Linked DNA regions of Homo sapiens: region 1 is linked to region 2. The links are contacts of gene promoters, found by promoter capture Hi-C in human tissues and cell types (Jung and others, 2019). All regions are on one chromosome and are shown on one strand. Each heading gives the region's core, a stretch centred on a gene start or on the middle of the fragment in contact. The rest is flanking DNA. Distances are from core to core; before and after follow the strand shown.

Region 1 (6,815 bases), core at 3,615-6,114, 42 kb before region 2:
AGCCTCGACCTTCCAGGCTCAAATGATCCTCCCACCTCAGTCCCTTGAGTAACTGGGACTACAGGTATGCCTGGCTAATATTTTTTTTTTTTTTGAGATGGAGTCACACTCTGTCGCCCAGGCTGGAGTGCAGTGGCGCGATCTCGGCTCACTGCAAGCTCCGCCACCCGGGTTCACACCATTGTCCTGCCTCAGCCTCCTGAGTAGCTGGGACTACAGGCGCCCGCTACCACGCCCAGCTAATTTTTTTATATTTTTAGTAGAGATGGGGTTTCACCGTGTTAGCCAGGATGGTCTCGATCTCCTGACCTCGTGATCCACCCACCTCGGCCTCCCAAAGTGTTGGGATTACAGGCGTGAGCCACCGTGCCTAGTCATTTTTGTATTTTTTTTAAAATAGAGATGGGGTTTATCAGTATGTTGCCTAGGCTGGTCTTGAACTCCTGGGCTCAAGTGATCTGGCTGCCTCGGCCTCCCAAAGTGCTGGGATTGCAATCGTGAGCCACTATGCCTGGCCTATATATATATATCTTTAAACCAGACATTGGTAGGCATCAAATCATTATTGTATGCGAACTGCAATAAATATGAAGGGAAGGATGCACCAGCTGTTTGAACATGTCAGTATCATAACACACCAGAACCAGAAATTCCATCCTTCACAACTACTTAAGGTTAATGAAGAAAAGTTTTACTTGTCAACTTGAAAATGCACTAGAGGGCACACAATTTATTTTTTCTTTTTCTGAGACAGGATCTCGTTCTGTTGCCCAGGCTGGAGTGCTGTGGAACAATCTCAGCTCACTGCAACCTCTGCCTCCCAGGCTCGAGTCATCTTCCCACCTCAGCCTCCTGAGTAGCTAGGACAACAGGTGCATGCCACCATGCCTGGCTAATTTTATTTTTTTTGGGTAGAGATGGGGTCTTGCCATATTCCATCTTATTTATTTATTTATTTAACAGATGGGCTCTCACTCTGTGGTCCAGGATGGAAGGCAGCGGCTCCATCACAGTTCACTGCAACCTCGAACACCTAGACTCAAGCAATTCTCCTGCCTCAGCCTCTGGAGCCGCTAGAACTATAGATGCCCCACCATGCCTGGCTGTTTTTAAATTGTTTTTTGGTAGAGACTGGGTCTTGCTATGTTGCCAAAGCAGGTCTTGAACTCCTGGGCTCAAGCAATCATCCTGCCTCAGCCTCCCAAAGTACTGGGACGACAGGAGACAGCCACTGAGCCCAGCCACTACACATTTTTCATCTTCAAAGGGGTGGGGTGGCAGGAAGGCTTGGGGAGCTCTGCTGGAGCTGGAGGGAAGACCTGAGGTGCAAGCTTAGGGCCCGAGAAGTCACTGTCACTGTCACTGTCAGCTGCTGCAGTTACTGTTACAGCTGTGACTTAGGCCCTGGGCTTGTGGGTTCCTGGGGTCCAGGCTGTGGAGACCCCTCCCACACTGAGGTCTTAGGGTCAGGCTGATCTGGGGTCCCCCCGGGGCTCCGCCACCTGCTGCCTGAGCAATGACAGCCTGCCCCAAGGCCCCTCTGTAACACAGGAAGGACAGCATCATCCTGACAATGACACTCGCCAGACCTGGTGGTGGCCCAGAGCTGGGCCCGTAACTGTCACTGCCTCCTTCATGTCAGGGACACCTAGCACAGTGGCCAGAGAGTGGTGAGGGGTGAGGGTTCCAGATCCTCTAGCCTTCCTGGGTGAGGTTCCCAGCGTGGAAATGCAAGTGTCTCAGTGCAGACCAAGCATGGGGATCTGGGCCAGCAGGTGGGTCTAGGTGTGCCAATGGGAGTGGGCACATACCCAGGCCACAGGAAATCAAATCAAGAGGGTGTGTGTGTGTGTGCACGCGTGTGTGCACGCAGGCATGGGCTTTCAGGGCTTTCAGAGCAGGGGCCGACGGCATTCTCCCTCGGGCCAGCGGTCAGATGTGGGGTTCAGGAAACAAGGCCCAGGTGGGGATGAATCACAGGGCTGTGATTCTAGAAGGGACAGCTGTGAGGGGCCGGGACAGGCTAAGCTGGAGGACTCACCAGACTTGCGGGGGTCAACACGCTCCAGATGTCTCCTAGACCTCTCACACTCAGCACATCCAAACCTGAACCCAGCACCTGGCCCCACACCTGTCCCCTGGCTAGAGACGGGGGCCTCAGCCCAGCTGTTCCCCTTCTCCCACAGCCTCTCAGCTGCGTGTCGGGTCCATTCTGCATCTTGAACATCTCTCCCAGTGGATTCCCTTCTGCTGTCCTGGTCCAGGATCCATCCCAGCTCTGACCAACGTTCTCCTCCCTGACCTCCTGAATAGGAGGAATACAGCCTGTCTATCCCCTTCTGAGTGCCTATCACAACCAGGAATAGTGGCTATCCAGTTACCTGTCTGCAATCAGTCTCCCCACTGTCCTGTAAGCCTCACAAGGGTGGGGCCCAGGGCTGTCACAGTCACTGCTGTGTCCCCAGCACTGCCCAGTGCCAGGCCAGGCACACGCATGATGCTCATTAGATCTAAGCTTAACACATAAGTGAGTCCCGCCTCCAGCCTCCTTCCCACCTGCCGGCCCCAGCCTCACCCCTCTGCAATTGTCCCCCACGCAGCAATCAGAAGGAATTGGTGAGAAGAAAAGAACAAACTGGCTGGGCGCGGTAGCTCAGGCCTTTAATCCCAGCGCTTTGGGAGGCTGAGACAGGCAGATCATGAGGTAAGGAGTTCAAGACCAGCCTGGCCAACATGGTGAAACCCATCTCCAGTAAAAATACAAAAAATTAGCGGGGCGTGGTGGGAGGCCCCTGTAATCCCACCTACTCGGGAGGCTGAGACAGGAGAATCGCTTGAACCCAGGAGGTGGAGGTTGCCGTGAGCCAAGACCACGCCACTGCACTCCAGCCTGGGCAACAAGAGCAAGACTGTCTCAAAAAAAGAAAAGAAAAGAACAAACCTACCATTCCCCGTCGCCCCACCCCCAACTCCTGCCGCAAATAAAAGTAACACATGGCAAGAAAACAAAGTACTCAAACTATAAAATGTAAAGCCAAAGTCCCCTCCTCAGAGGAACCCTCAACTACTGCGGTCGCCAGCCTGTTTTCCCCTAGCGCCATCTCCTGGACAGCCCATAGTAAGCATACCTCACTCATTTCTGAGCTCTTCAACTGGAGGTTTGTTCAGATCTACGCCATCGTTACCTACTCATAATCCAGCCCCACTATGAAAGGTGAGCACTCTGCCCCCATGCGGCCTGCCCTTTCTCCGCTCCCCCATTTCTACAGGGGATTTGTATGCAGTTTTTATTATTCTATGTTCTGCTGTTTTTTTTTTTTATTTTTTTTAGACGGAGTCTCGCTTTGTCCCCAAGGCTGGAGTGCAGTGGCATGATCTCCGCTCTGCAATGCAGTGGCCATGGAAACACTCTCCAGTGTGGTGTGACTAAGGCAGAGAGGAGACCCTCTGAGTGCTGCTTCATGAGACTTTGGTGCTTTTTTTTTTGATACAGAGTCTTGCTCTTGTTGCCCAGGCTGGAGTGCAGTGGCTTGATCTTGGCTCACTGCAACCTCTGCCTCCCGGGTTCGAGTGATTCTCCTGCCTGAGCCTCCCAAGTAGCTGGGATTACAGGCGCCCACCACCATGTCCGACTAATTTTTGTATTTTTAGTAGAGACGGGATTTCACCATGTTGGCCAGGCTGGTCTCAAACTCCTGACCTCAAGTGATCCATTCACCTTGGCCTCCCAAAGTACTGGGACTACAGGTGTGAGCCACCGTGTCTGGCCTAACTCCAACTTCATGAGAGATCTTAACCTATAATTTTCCTTTTCTGTAATGACTTTATCAGGCTTTGATATCAGTATTCTATTGGACTCATAAAATGAGTAAGTCAGTATTCCTACTTTCTCTATTACTTAAAAGAATATGGACAATGGTCTTTCTTTCTTTCTTTTCTTTTCTTTCTTTCTCTTCTCTCTCTTCTTTCCCTCTTTTTCTTTCTTTTTTTTTTTTTTTTTTTTTTGAGATGGAGTCTCGCCATGCTGTCCCAGGTGGACTGTAGTGGCACAATCTCGGCTCACTGCAACCTCCGCTTCCCGGGTTCAAGTGATTCTCTCACCTCAGCCTCCCATGTAGCTGGGACTACAGGCACATACCACCACACCTGGCTAATTTTTGTATATTTTGGTAGAGACAGGGTTTCACCATGTTGACCAGGCTGGTCTCGAACTCCTGACCTCACGTGATCCACCCGCCTCAGCCTCCCAAAGTGCTGGGATTACAGGTGTGAGCCACCGCACCTGGCCCCCTCCATTTCTCTCTTCCTGTCTTTTCCCAATTCTTCTTTTAGATCTCAGCTGGACTGTCCCTTCCTCCAGGAAGCCCTCCCTGAACCATAGGCTGGGTCAGACACATTCTCAAGGTTCTCAAAGCTCCCTGGGCTTAACACGAGGCCGGCCTTAATAAATGGCAGCAAGACCTTTGGAGTCGCACAGACCTGGACTCAAATCCTGGTTCTGTCACTTTCTGGATTCGCAAGCTGAGCCTTGGTGTTTCCTTATCAAAACTGGGGGTCAAAATACTCAACTGACAGGATTGGGAGAATGGCAATGACAGAGTAAGGGAGAAAATGCTCAGTTTGTAAATGTTAACCTAATATCCTCTTCCTGACTTCTGTCAGGAATTTTATTCCTGGAAGTACATCCTACCCACTGGTGTGAATCTACTCTTGGGTTACATAGAATCGTTTTCCGTCTCCTCCCTGAACTCTCTCCCTCCAGACTCACTCCCTTTCATCTGTCTTCCATACCGGAGAATCCCAACTCAGATGTCCCCTCCTCCAGGAAGCCTTCCCTGACCTCCAGACCCCTGGGATCCTCTATCTGAGCTCTGACTGCTCTGGGTCCTCACTGCATGGTGACAAGTCTGTCTCTCCAACTGGACTGTGAGGCCGATGCAGGCAGGACCTGAGGCTAACTCGGTCACTGCACTGTCCCCAGCCCCAGATAGGCACAGAGCAGGCACTTAATGAAAAAGCTGATCTGTGGAGGTGCCCAGGAGGTGACCATGGACAATGGGTATGGCTCCTGTCTCTGGCTCCCCCATCTCCCTTCTCTCTCTCCTGATGCTTTTGGTGTTATCTGTCCCCTCGAGAATGTGGCACTGTGCATTGCCCCTCCTCCTGGATTTCCTGGATTGGCTCCAGGCCCCCTCTACACATCTGTCTCTGATATAGACCCTTTCCTCGGCCTCAGTGGCTGTCATTTCTCAGGGCACCATTTCCTAAGCCCTTTTCTCACTCGACTGTCACATCTACTTCCAGGGGCCACTCAGAACTTCAGGACCCAAACTCCTATGCTCAGATCTCTCTCAGCCCCGGAGCTCCAGGCCACAGGCACTTCAGACACTCTAGGTCACAACACAGTGGCTGACCAAGCCCAGAGAGATTTCCCCGGGAAAGGAGGGATATCTTAACCCACTGAGGCAAGTAAAGTGACGTACTTGGCCACAGTTAACTATTGTTCAAGATTTTTCTGAGCATGAAACTGCAGGTGGCTGGAATGCAACCCTTTCCTCAGGAAATGTGCTGCTAAGACCAAACAGCTCCCTCCGTGGTGGGGGACCGGGGCTCGGGAGCTTATGCACAAATAGGACAGGCCGGGCGCGGTGGCTCACGCCTGTAATCCCAGCACTTTGGGAGGCCGAGGTGGGTGGATCACCTGAGGTCGGGAGTTCAAGACCAGCCTGACCAACATGGAGAAACCCTGTCTCTACTAAAAATACAAAATTAGCCAGGCATGGTGGCGCATGCCTGTAATCCCAGCTACTCGGGAGGCTGGGGCAGGAGAATCGCTTGAACCTGGGAGGTGGAGGTTACGGTGAGCCGAGATCATGCCATTGCACTCCAGCCTGGGCAACAAGAGCAAAACTCCATCTCAAAAAAGAAAGAAAGAAAAAAAGGACAAAGCACCTCTTCCCCACTATTGGGAACACGCCTGCATACGATGGCTGCTTCCTTGTAAAATGAAGGGAAGGTATTCCTCATAGGGTCCACTACTCGATGGTGAAGGGTCGTCATAAGGACACAGTAGTGACTGCTAGAGCCCACGATGGCAAGACGGCCATGACGAACATGCTGGCTACTGAGAGGCTAAATCCCGTGGAACCGGTAACCGGAACTGTATACTAGGGAGGAGGGAGAGGTTATTTAATATGGGAGAGGGAAAGGAAAAACATCAAATCCTTATCTTTCATACAAGGAAGTTGGCTGATAATAAAAGATGGGGAAGATCCCAGCACTTTGGGAGGCCGAGGCGGGCAGATCACCTGAGGTCAGGAATTTGCAACCAGCCTGACCAATATGGTGAAACCCCGTCTCTACTAAAAATACAAAAATTAGCTGGGCGTGGTGGCAGGCATCTGTAATCCCAGCTACCCGGGAGGCTGAGGCAAGACAATCGCTTGAACCCGGGAGGCAGAGGCTGCAGTGAGCCGAGACCATGCCAGTCAGTGCACTCCAGCCTGGGCAACAGAGCGACACTCCGTCTCAAAAATAAATAAATAAATAATAAAATAAAATAAAAATAAAAAAATGAAAGATGGGGAAGAAATAATAAAAGATGAGAAAAAAATTTCCAAATGAGGAATGTTTAGAAATTCTCTTATTAGGGCCAGGCATTATGGCTCACGCCTATAATAATCCCAGCACTTAAGAGGCCGAGGCACTGGATCACTTGAAGTCAGGAGTTCAAGACCAGCCTGGCCAACATGGCAAAACCCCATCTCTACTAAAAATAAAAAATTAGCCGGGAGTGGTGATGCACACCTGTAATC
Region 2 (6,739 bases), core at 2,766-5,265:
TCATCACATCACAGACCGGAACGTCCTTGCTAGAATGCGATATCAGCTCCGTAACATGCAGTATTTGAACGATTATTATTATTCCACGGGGACTAGGGGGCTGAGACAAGAAATAAACCGGTTCTTCATGGCAGGAGACACCCACCGAGGGCTAGAAGTCCCCTTTGCCCCACTTTCTATCGACCCCCAGGGCTCTGCTGACCTAACTCGGGTACCCGGGCAGGAGACACTTCCGGCAGCCAGAGGAGGAAATACACTTCCCATTGCTAATTTCCTCAAGGGGGAACCGGTCCAGCTCTCACCCCTCCTCCCTCCCACCCCTCCTCCCCAACCTGCTGGCATCTTGCGGATGCTGGACATGGGGGGGAGGGGTGCCCAGACAGCCCTCTCTTCTTCCCCACGTGAGATCTGCCCAACGTGGAAACCCCAAAAGTCAGCATGGAACGTCAGACTCTTAGAACGCCACAGTGCAGCCGACGTATGTGTGGCAGCTGGGAGTGTGAGGCTATTTCTGACCCCTTCCTGGTACAGATGGGGAAACCGAGGCCCGCAGCAGCAAGGCAGTTGTCTAAGTCACTTGATGTCTCAAGACTGGGCAAACCTCCTGTCGCTGTTAACTAAACAGCTTCCCTTCCCCTGAGGTTTTTCTCTTCACTCTCTGAACTTCTGTAATTTTTCTCAAGTCTTTCTGAGCGTCTCTGGCCCCTCTGAGAACCTACTAGAAGATACGACCTTCTCCCCACAAAGAAAGCAAGCGACCTTCCATCACCTGATCCCCATAACCCCGTTCCCCTTCCAGGACCCTCTCTGGTTGGGATCTAAGTTCTGCCCCTTAGGCTCTGTTGAGGGGGTAAACCCCCAAATCTCACATCCACAAGAAGCTCCCCCTGTCTGTCCCACAGGCCCCCACTTCTTGGGTCCCTGCTGGCCCCTTCCAGAGAGTCGGGGGGAAGAGAAATATACCCAAGGATGGAGAGATGGTGGGGGGACAGGAAAGACTAGGAAGACCTGGCCCCCCCAACTTTAGCAGCCTCGGCTGCCGCATCCTGCCAGCCACCCCAAAATCCAGCAAAGCTGAAAAACTTGGAGGATTTTGAGGACAAGAGGGAGAAGTGCTACAGCCCCCCGCATCCCCCAGCACCCCTGGGCTCACTCACCAGCCTTGTCCCCGATGCCACCAGGCTATCTCACCTCCCCCTTTTCCTCCTCTGTGGGCTCCTGCTCCCACCACCCCCCCCTCCCCGCCTTCTCCCTGCAGCCCCAAGGGACCAGCCAGCTCCGGTCTGCTCATTAGGGACGAAATGTGATCACTGGTCCTCGCTCCCCACCTGGTGCCCTGGCGGCCGGCGGAAACCAGGGGGCAATCGGGCTACCCTAACGGCCCCACTGCACCTCAGTATCCCTGTTTCAACCGAGAGGGTCTCTGTGCCCCCAAAGCCCACACTGCCTACTAGGGATACCAGTCCTTAGATGGCCTCTCTGACGTTCTAGGTCTCTATGGTTCTGCAGTCTTCAGGTTCTATCCTTAGTTCACTTCGCAGTTGAATGTTCTATTATAACATTCTAGAGCGTTACTCTTCTTTCATTCTATTTATTACATCGTGGCTTTGTAAGTACCTACCCTAAGTTTCCAATATTCTAGGAGTGTCACATTCCAAGATTCGAAAGTTCTATTGTTAGAACACGCTATGATTTTTTTAAGCATTCTATGACTTTCATAATCTATTATTAAACGCTCAGTGATTTTTATCTTTCCCCAGCAAACAGGAATATGTATTTCCCTTTTCTCTTTTACAGAAATGGGAACATACACTAAATACGGTGAGCCCCACTTCCTTTTCTTTCCCCCCTTCTCTCGCCTGCTTTTGAACATTCCAGCAGCCTGATTTCTAAGATTGTGCAGAATTCTAAGAAATTATGGCTTCATGGAGGGAAGAGAGGGGCGTGTTAGTCACCACCTCCACCTGGCCCCTAAATTCTCACCACCTGGGGGTGACATGCTATATCCAGGCCGCCTCTCTACCCTTTCGCTAGTGGGCCTAGCCTCAGCCCTCCCCGCTCACACCAGCTGAGTTATTATTTGTCTAGACACAAACCAAATTATAGGCCCTGTCCCCGAGGGAACGGTGGGCTCCAGGCGGAGGGTCAGGAGACTGAAGCTGGAGTTAATCCCGGTTCCCCTCCACCTCCCTCCCTCTCTTCCCGAAACTCCACCCCTTCCACCCAAACCAACTATTGCCCCTCTCCCTCCCCACCACCATGGTTTTGGAAATATTTTCTCTCCTCTGCTTCTAAAACCCTCCCTTCTGGATTCCAGCCATTTCTACTCACCCTGGCATCTCTCCCTCCTCATTGAGAAGACCTCTTTCCCCAAATTAATCCGACTTAGTGGTAGCAGAAGAAGCCAGCTCTGTGGATTTGGGCTTCAGTTGAAAACTGGGGTCCCAACCCTCCAGCCTGGCACTGACTCACTGTGGGGACTTCTGCTTTTGGACCTCAGTTTCTCCATCTATAAAATGGGGGCAGGGGGAGTTGGCCTAGGTGGCTCCGCAAACCCTTTCCAGCTCTCAGCTGCCATCACTGAAACGTGCCAAGATTTCAACACTCCTCTTTTTGGATTGAAGGACTCCAGTATCCCCAGGACCTTTGATTGGAAAGATCTGGAATTCCCAGGCCTCCCCTCCAATGCTTCTTCCATCTGGGCCCTTCCATTCAAAGATGTTCACATTCAAGGTACTTGATCATAGGATTCCCAGGGTTCCAGGAGCCCCTATGGGTCTTTCATCCTCTTCAGCTGGGATTCCCCCAGAAAAGAAAACCTCCTCATCCTCACCCCAAACCTGAAGTCAAGTTCATCTACAAAGACAGAGGTGGGGGCGGATACCCCCTTGGTGGGCTCAGGAGGAGGGGGGCTGATGGTGGGCTCTGGAGGGGGAACTGGGGGGTGTGGCCCCATCCTCTCCACTTCTGCGCCAAACAAATTCCCCAATGCATATCCAGCCTGAGTACGCACACACACACATCCCACAACCGATGCCTCACAGATATCCTAGAGCTATTCCTCAGCCTAGTTTGGGAGGAGGGGTTGTCCAGTTCCAGGGGGGAGAGTGAGGCGGAAGCAGGAAAGAGTTAATGGTGACCCAGCCAAATCCTGGAAGAGAGGAAGTAGGGGAGGAAGTCCACCCCCCAGGCAGGAATTCCTGAAATTGGCGGGCGGGCTGGGTGCGACCTGAGGGGCAGTGGGGTGGCTCCGTGAAGGGGGCGCTGGGATCATGGTGTCACTTAGAGTCCGCCTGCCCCAGGTCACAAGCCTCCTGCCCCCTACCCCACTCCCAAGCAGGTTCCCAGCCCAGAGGAAAGTTCCGGGATGCGGAGGATTTGGAAGGAGAGAAGACAGAGCTGAAGGTGCCAAAACAGTGTTATAAGAGACGGAGAGAAAGAGACAGGGCAATAGAGATGAAGAGACAGGAAGGGAGAGAGCAAAGAGATACACAGAGACAGGGAGAGATGGAGATAGAGTCAGAGACATCCGCAGAGGTCCCACAACAGACGGGGGTGAGGCAGAGGCAGGGGCAGAGGGAGGTGGGACCCAGAAACAGAGAGACAGAGACAGACAGACGGAGACAGAGAGGCAGAGATCAAGAAAAAGACAGAGACATCCAGAGACACAGAAGGAAAGACACGTCCAGAGGCAGAGGGACCACAGACACAGAGACATCAGGCGGGAGTTGGAGACAGACGCAAAGCCAGGGAGAGCAACAGAGGGGGCGGGCACCGAGACGGCGCGGGAGACTGAGGCAGCCCCCGAGGGGGCGGGGAGGAGCGGTCTCGCCACGAGCAGGGCAACCTAGTGAGACCCCGCAGCATCGCGGGCAGCCGGGGAGGACCCGGCACTTACCTGCGCGCGGCGACTGGACGGGGCGGGCGGCGGCACCTCTCTCCGCTGCGTCCAGGTCCCCGGTCTTGACAACGGCGCGGGGACCCAGCGGATGCCCCCGCGGGGCAGAACAGCGGCTACTCCTCCCGGCCCCCGGGCCAGAGCCGCCAGCCGAGGCCCCGCCCCGGCCAGGCCCGCCCCCATTAACCCCACCTTTGCCGCTGCCCCTTAACCCCTTTCAGGCTTCACCCCATTAAACGCCTCCAGCCACGGGTGAGGCTCATCTGCTACTGGAACACCCCCGAATCCTTCCAAGTCCCCAGCTGGAAGGTCCCCTCTCTCCAACCACACACCCCCAAATTTATCAGGTCCTCGGCTATGGGAAGAGGAGGCCCCCGCTACTGACCTTCCCTGGGTTAAGCCATTTCCTCCCTTAGAGACCCCAGGCTTCAGTCATTCATCCTCTGGTCATTAACCTTCTGCATCTTCCTCCCCAACAACGGAGAGAATAAAGGGTTCTGTTAGGTCCCCAACTCCAAAGTCAGGGCCACCCCTAGAAGGAGCTCTGGGGTTGCATTTCCAGCCTGACTCTTGGTCAGACCTTAGGCTAGTGACATCTCCGTGCCTCAGTTTCCTCTTTGAATCAAGGTGGTCACTCATGGTGCCTGCTTGCTTCCTTCTTTTCTTTGCTTTGCTTTGCTTTGCTTTTTTCTTTCTTTTCTTTCGAGACAGAGTCATGCTCTGTTGCCCAGACTGGAGTGCAGTGGCACAATCTTGGCTCACTGCAATCTCTGCCTTCCAGGTTCAAGCGATTCTCCTGCCTCAGCCTCCCGAGTAGCTGGGATTACAGGCACACACCACCACGCCCGGCTAATTTTTGTATTTTTAATAGAGACGGGGTTTCACCAAGTTGGCCAGGCTGGTCTCGAACTCCTAAGCTCCAGCTATCTGCCCACCTCGGCCTCCAAAAAGTGTTGGGATTACAGGCGTGAGCCACCGTGCCCCACCTTTTTTCTTTTTTTGAGACAGGTTTTCACTCTCTTGCCCAGTCTGGAGTTCAGTGGCACGATCATGGCTCCCTGCGGCCTCAACCTTCCAGGCTCAAGTGATCCTCCCACCTCAGCCTCCTGAGTTGCTGGGACTACAGGCGTGTGCCACCACACCTGGCCAATTTAAAAAATTTTTTTTTTCTATAGACAGGGGTCTCACTATGTTGTCTAGGCTGGTCTCAAACTCCTGGGCTCAAGCCATCCTTCTGCTTTGGCCTCCCAAAGTGCTGGGATTATAAGCCTGAGCCACCGAGGCCGGCCATCATGGTCCTTTTCTCCTGGCGGTCTCATTTAATGGTGTCAATGCTATCAAGTCTGTAAAATATGCCAACCAGACCCCAACACTCCCCATCTTTCTCTGCCTCACTTTTCCCCTACCCTTTGGGGAAGGCAACATTCTCTTATTTTTTTCTAGTTGTCTGCCTTCCTACTAGGAAGAGTGTCATTTTTGTGTCTGGCTTGTTTACTGTTGCATGTCTGTTGCCTAGAAGACTGCTGGGCAGGTGATAGGTGTGAAACACATTGTTTTCTGGCCGAGCGTGGTGGCTCACGCCTGTAATCCCAGCACTTTGGGAGGCTGAGGCAGGCGGATCACGAGGTCAGGAGATGGAGACCATCCTGGCTAACACAGTGAAACCCCATCTCTACTAAAAATACAAAAAAATTAGCCAGATGTGATGGTGGGCGCCTGTTGTCCCAGCTAATCAGGAGGCTGAGGCAGGAGAACGGCATGAACCCGGGAGGCGGAGCTTGCAGTGAGCCAAGACCGCGCCACTGCACTCCAGCCTGGGTGACAGAGCAAGACTCCATCTCAAAACAAAAAACAAAAAACATTGTTTTCAGGGAGTGAACAAATGAATGATAAGTGCTCCTAAAACATTAGCTTATTTTTATTATTAACATCACATCTTTCATAAACTAATCATGAGAATTCATTATTGGTCAAGGGACTTCAGATAGATGTGGCATATAACACTAAAAAATGATAGCTGTCAGGTTTGATTTTTTTTTTTTTTTTTGAGACAGAGTCTTGCTGTGCCCAGGCTGGAGTGCAGGGACATGATCTCAGCTCAATACAACCTCCTCCTGCCGGGTACAAGCAATTCTCCTGTCTCAGCCTCTGGTAGCTGGGTATACAGGCATGCACCACCACACCCAGCTAATTTTTTTGTTTTTAGTAGAGACAGGGTTTCACCATGTTGGCCAGGCTGGTCTCGAACTCCTGACCTCAGGTCATCTGCCTGCCACGGCCTCCCAAAGTGCTGGGATTACAGGCATGAGCCACGGCACCTGGCTTGTTTTTTGTTTTTTTGAGACAGAGTCTTGCTCTGTCCCCCAGGCTGGAGTGCCATTGTGCCATCTCAGTTAACTGCAACCTCCACCTCCCAGGTTCAAGTGATTATCCTGCCTCAGCCTCCCGAGTAGCTGGGACTACAGGTGAACACCACCACACCCGGCTACTTTTTGTGTTTTTAGTAGAGACAGGTTTTCACCATGTTGGCCAGGCTGGTCTCGAACTCCTGACCTCAGGTGATCAGCCTGCCTAGGTCTCCCAAAGTGCTGGGATTATAGGCATCAGCCATCGCGCCCAGCTCTTTTGTGTTTATTTTTAAATTAAATTAAAATGTAGGCCAGGCATGGTGGTTCATGCCTGTAATCCCATCACTTTAGGAGGCCAAGGCAGGTTGATCAATTGAAGCCAGGAGTTTGAGATCAACCTGGGCAACATAGCAAGACTCTGTCTCTACAAAAAAAAAATTTCTTTTAACTAGCCAGCTGGGTGGTGCGTGCCTGTGGTCCCAGCTACTGCGCA

The links. The method cuts DNA at HindIII sites, captures the fragments that hold promoters and counts their contacts. A contact is called where the count stands out against the background at its distance.
Region 1: a contact is called between a fragment that was not itself captured here and the fragment with the promoter of GPR4 in region 2, in 2 of the 25 tissues and cell types used here (mesenchymal stem cells and spleen).

The regions. Positions count from the first base shown.
Region 1 is chr19:45,555,415-45,562,229 of GRCh38, forward strand. The region is part of intron 1 of OPA3 (outer mitochondrial membrane lipid metabolism regulator OPA3); the gene reads right to left. Among named protein-coding and RNA genes, the nearest start is that of OPA3, 26 kb to the right of the region's middle. RefSeq lists enhancers at 2,615-3,115, 6,438-6,815. The HindIII fragment of the contact is 5,882 bases long and covers 1,924-6,815 here.
Region 2 is chr19:45,598,197-45,604,935 of GRCh38, forward strand. It overlaps GPR4 (G protein-coupled receptor 4), which reads right to left and starts at 4,016. Exons shown (of 2, transcript NM_005282.3): 1 at 3,899-4,016. RefSeq lists an enhancer at 1-454. The HindIII fragment of the contact is 53,447 bases long and covers 1-6,739 here.